2 separate regions of the Homo sapiens genome follow, and region 1 is linked to region 2. Evidence: promoter capture Hi-C in 16 types of primary human blood cells and fetal thymus (Javierre and others, 2016). All regions are on one chromosome and are shown on one strand. The core of a region is centred on a gene start or on the middle of the fragment in contact, and the rest is flanking DNA. Distances in the headings are between cores, read along the strand shown. Region 1 overlaps CRYL1 (crystallin lambda 1). Region 2 holds the start of XPO4 (exportin 4).

Region 1 (2,700 bases), core at 10-2,509, 400 kb after region 2:
TGCCACATGGACTGTGTGGTTGGGCTGTCTTCTGACTCTTTTGCATTGCAGTAACTTAATTAAAGATTTTTGTGCAGCCTCAACTTAACCTGCCCGTCTGGAGTTAGAGTGATCCCTGGGGCTGGAGTCGGGTGGAGTCTGGCTCAGCCCTCTGCCTCTGCATAATCAGGGCCTAGAAACAACAGCAATGTCAACGTCAAAGCAGACAGCACAACACAGCCATCCCATAAGGAAGCAATCCCTGGCCTTTCTATTTCCTCACTGCTCTCTGTTCTTTGCCTCCAGTGTGCTAGAATTTCTGTTGGCTGGAGATGAGGTAGACTCACCTCCTTAAGCTAATCTTACCTGATCTTCCATGTCTGCCCCATTCTTCCCCATCTTTAGCTCTTCAGATCCTCAGACCTTCAGGAATAGGTGGGAGCCAAAGACCCTGCCAGAAATCCCCTTGGGAGTTCACTATAGGCTGGCACTGAGATTTCTGAAAGAAATGTTAGCCATGCCCTTTATTCCTCAGGAAGCTGCATTATACATGGAGTCATACTGTAGATAGAAAGCAGGCAGCACAGTGTGAAAATAAGTGAGCAGTGCAGAGGGGTCCAGTGTGGCTCAGCGGCCCAGACTGTGAGCTTTGCAGTCAGATCTGGCTCAGCCTTCATAGCTGGGTAACTCACTCAATCTGTTTCCTCATCTGGGATATGGAGACATAATAATACCTTCCTCATAATGTGGTTTTGTTACCAAAACACCAAGAGTTTGGTCTAGGTGCTGCTGCTCACAGCAGTGAAAGCCAATGACTGAAATGATGAGTACAGCCAAGGAAGAAGGCTTTAATCGGCTGCTGCAGCCAAGGAGATGGGAGTTCAGTCTCAAATCCATCTCCCTGACCACCTAAAATCAGGGGTTTATATAGCAGGAAAGAAATGTAGCACTGTGTAGGAAAACAGGAACTAGGGGGGGGCAAGGAAGCAATCATGGTGAATGAGGGGCCTGGAGTCTCATTGTATGGATGTGATGATCTGGTAAGTTTCAGTTCTTCAACACTTTTTTTTTTGAGATGCCTGAAGTAATTTCCTGAGGAAAGAACTCAGATAAAACCAATAGAAATTTCAAGCTTTAAGGCAAAAAGTATCAATTTCTATGTTTACTGAAAAAATTGAGTGGGTTTCAGTCTCCCCTTGTTTATAGATTCCTCAACCATGGGGCATCTGGTCATCCATCTTTCTGTCTCCTTCCTGCTGAGGAGAGGCATTGTGGGCAGCTCCATACCATGGAAGACCTCATGACCATCCAGGAATCAAAGGCTAATCTAATACTAAAGTTTTTCTTCTGAAACACAATCTTTTTCTCCAGTCTACCACTTTCACAAAGACATCACAGCAGGACCAATCTACCTGCAAAATAAGCTTCAGTCCCATATACTTGGCCTGATTACCCACACAAAATGGAACAAGAATCACTGTTCTCATAGGCTCTCCTAAATTGGCTTTGCTAGAACCTCTCTCAAGGCCATTTTAGTCAAAGCCCTGGGAAAACAACCAGTTCCTTCAACTGTGTCCCATTACCAAAGAAAACATGTTGTTATTAACTGTATGCAAACAAACACATTGCCATGAATTAAGAATACTCACAAATAGTTTATAAATTCTGGATAAATTAGAGAAATATGCCTCAAATTCTGTTTACAAAAGTATACTCTACTCACTATACTTAAAAGATACTTAAAGGATGACTCAAAAGAAAAAAATTCTTCAGACTCTGAAAAACAAAAAGAATGAGCAATATTTCAAACAAAAAAGCCATAAAAGTTATTTCAGTCCTCCATTAGTTCCGTCCATGCAGACAACTCCTGCTCTGCTTCATGTTGAGTTAGCCATCTTTGTGAACACATCAGTGTTTCCATTAGTGCACTGGAAGTTTTCTCTCACATCCAATGGCACAATCTCCGAAGTTATCAGAAACTTGTATTCAAGAGTCCTTTTCATGAACTCCCCCCAAAGAAACAAGCCCTGGACAGTAGCTGATTATAAGTCACTTTTTGTGAAGAATCAACACAAAACAACAATTGTGGATGACAAAAGTCTTAGGACAACCACAGTTAAAGACACTGTTGACAAGGAAATTTGGTTATTTCTGTGGGATACAACAATTTAACATGAAAATCATAATTATTACTGACAACATATTAAGACATATCAGAATTATAAGAATCTAATATAATCCTGGAACACATTGACAACACATCTATATAAACATAACCAAAGGGAGCTAAACAACATCTCAGATTTGACAATGCTTCCTACATTTTTTTTTGTGTGTGTGTCAGAGTCTCGCTCTGTCACCCAGGCTGGAGTGCAGTGGCATGATCTCGGCTCACTGCAAGCTCTGCTCTCGGGTTCACGCCACTCTCCTGCCTCAGCCTCCCTAGTAGCTGGGACTACAGGCGCCTGCCACCACGCCCGGCTAATTTTTTTTTTCATTTTTTTAGTAGAGATGGGGTTTCACCGTGTTAGCCAGGATAGTCTCGATCTCCTGACCTCACGATCCACCCGCCTCGACCTCCCAAAGTGCTGGGATTAAAGGCATGAGCCACTGCGCCCGGCCACATTTTTTTTTTTTTTTTTTGAGACAGGGTCTCACTCTGTTGCCCAGGCTGGAGTGCACTGATGCGATCTTGGCTCACTACAGTCTCTGCCCCCTGGG
Region 2 (2,700 bases), core at 198-2,697:
GACAATGCTGATTTTTGTCCTTTTTTTTTTTTTTCCTGAGACAGGATCAGCCTCTCACCCAGGCTGGAGTGCCGTGGTGTGATCTCGCCCCACTGCACTCTCGACCTCCTGGGCAATCCTTCCGCTTCAGCCTCCCGAGAAGCTCGGACCACAGGCGCAAGACACCACACCGGGCTTTTTTTTTTTTTTTTTTTGGTAGAGACAGGGTCTCACGATGTTGCCCAGGCTGGTCTCGAACTCCTGAGCTAAAATGAGGCCTGCCTTGGCCTCCCAAAGTGCTGGGATTACAGGCATGAGCCACAGCGCCTGGCCGACAAAGCTCATCTTACTGCATTTGAGAAGCCAGGTAGTCAAGGTCAGGCTTTCCTGTCCCTGCTTTCTCCCTCTCCTATGTGAGCCAGCCCTTAAAGAGTGAAAACGGCAAGAGCCAAAGACGGGTTTTCCTCCTAGGGTCTCCTAGCGACCCGCTGCCCAGATACATTTGGATGATTGTCCTGCAGAAGGCCAAAGCCCTCCATTATGAAAACGAAGCGTTCGGCCGGGGGCGGTGGCTCACGCCTGTAATCCCAGAACTTTGGGAGACCGAGGCGGGCGGATCACCTGAGGTCAGGAGTTCGAGACCAGCCTGGCCAACATGGTGAAACTTCGTCTCTACTAAAAGTACAAAAATTAGCCGGGCGTGGTGGCGGGCGCCTGTAATCCCAGATACTCAGGAGGCTGAGGCAGGGGAATCGCTTGAACCCGGGAGACGGAGGTTGCAGTGAGCCGAAATAGGGCCATTGCACTCCATCCTGGGCGATAGAGTGAGACCCTGTCTCCAAAAAAAAAAAAAAAGAAAGAAAGAAAACGAAGCGTTCTATCCTGGAATGTTCTCCCATGGCAAGAAGGAACAGAGAAGCAGGAGACAGAGATACTTTGAAAGGAGGTGCGCTCTGAGGAGGGGAAAGCGGGAAGAGCGATTCCAAGTTTAGGAAATCCTGCACGGCGCTGGAGCGTGGAAGGGCAAGGAGGAGCCAGGGGAGGCGGTGTGCAGGGCTGAGAACGGAGGGAGCGAACTGGCGTCGTGGATCTGCGGGTCCCCGGGCGGGCTGTACTAGGGTAGTGGGGAGAGGGCCGGGGGCACCGCGAGGCCGGGGCGCCGGACACCACGCATGCGCGGGGCTGGGAGCTTAGCGGGGCGCGCGGCTGCAGCAGTCTGGGCAGACCGCCTCGGCCTCGCCCGGTGCCGGCTGCGGCCGCCCCCGCCCCAGCGCGGCGGCCGGGCTCACACTAGTCCCCTCCCAGCCACCCGGAACCCGGCAGCCCGGCCAGACCCGCCGAGGCCGCGACGCCGGTGTCGACAGCGGCTGCGACGGCCCTGGGAGCGCGTGAGGCTCCGGGGTCGCGGCGGCGATTGGCCGGCCGCGGCGCCCGCTCCCAGAATGCAGCGCATGGCGCGTCATTGAAGAGAGACCATGATGGCGGCGGCGCTGGGGCCCCCAGAAGTGATCGCTCAGCTGGAGAACGCGGCTAAAGTTCTGATGGTGAGGACGCCGCGCCCCTCAGACCCCGGGATTCGCGGGCCCCCGGTCGGCCCTGCCACTCCAGGCCTTGCTGCTCGCTGGGCTGGCGACTGGCAAGGGCCTGCAGGGAGCCTGGAAGTGGAGGAGGAGGTGGCGGTGGCGTGGCGCAGGATTCTTCAGCCTACTTTCCTCCTGCCGTCGTCCCCTCCTTCCAGGAGCTGTCCCCTTCCCCTGGCTGCCCAGCACCCCAGTCGGGCGTGGGAATATAGTGGTGTAGCAAAGAGAATTTCTTCACCTTACACCCTGCCCCACAGACTGGGTCGCAGAGCAAGGCGCCGGGAAGGAGTTGGGGTTATCCCCGCAGGGCTTCGGTAGGGGAAATTTGTAGGGCTGTGTGAGCGCTCTTGGGGAGTTGGTGTCGGGAGGGATTGGATGGCACAGCCTGGGTGCTGTTAGCAACCCTTGTTTCCTGTGCATTCGCATCCTCTAGCGCTTCCCTGACATGCAGCCACCTCTGGAGTAATTGCAGCCGGCAGCACGTGGAAGGGCCGGGCCGGCTGGAGGGAGGGAGGGGAATCGTTGAGACCAAGGTCATTGGGGCAAAACTTGGTCTAGTGCTAAGCTCCTTAAAGCTCCCGCGATTTGGAGAACTGAGTCTATGCTACTCTTTGACTTCATGCTTACACTACAATAAGCAGTTTGATGAGATTGTTTACTAAGGGAATTTGAGAAGGCCGAGTCAAAGGATAAAAGTATTACATGCAAGGAGGAGAAGTAAGGATAAACTACGTTCAGTTAGTAAACAGTGTTTCTATTTGCTGGCTCAGCTTTGTTTTTGCAAATTATGACTTCGGTGTTTGTAGATGTTTTGGGAAGTTAGAGGTTCATTTGATACCTGGATTGATTCAGACTTTCTAAGAATTGGATACAGCCAGCTTTGTTACCTTTTTGGACTTTTTTCCTTTTGGTTTGGTGTTAGGGTGTTTGAGCATCACATTTGAGAATATTCGAACTAATTCTAGCGTAGTTTGTAGTTCTAATATTTTACACCAGATATTTTTGTTTCTTTAGAAATCGAGAAGTCTAATAAAAGCAGGATTTACTTGCTTCATTATGAATATTAACTTAATGTACGTTTTGTCACAAAACAGACTAGTGAAGGTTTTCACACTTTTGCAAATTAAGCAGAAGTAACTAG

The links. The method cuts DNA at HindIII sites, captures the fragments that hold promoters and counts their contacts. A CHiCAGO score of 5 or more calls a contact.
Region 1: a fragment that was not itself captured here is called in contact with the fragment with the promoter of XPO4 in region 2 in 1 of 17 cell types (endothelial precursors); the score reaches 7.2 in endothelial precursors.

Annotation. Positions count from the first base shown.
Region 1 is chr13:20,499,268-20,501,967 of GRCh38, reverse strand. The region is part of intron 2 of CRYL1 (crystallin lambda 1); the gene reads left to right. Among named protein-coding and RNA genes, the nearest start is that of CRYL1, 25 kb to the left of the region's middle. RefSeq lists an enhancer at 1-10. The HindIII fragment of the contact is 292 bases long and covers 1,114-1,405 here.
Region 2 is chr13:20,901,493-20,904,192 of GRCh38, reverse strand. It overlaps XPO4 (exportin 4), which reads left to right and starts at 1,447. Exons shown (of 23, transcript NM_022459.5): 1 at 1,447-1,523. The coding sequence starts at 1,455. RefSeq lists a silencer at 1,045-1,424 and an enhancer at 1,635-1,684. The HindIII fragment of the contact is 36,571 bases long and covers 1-2,700 here.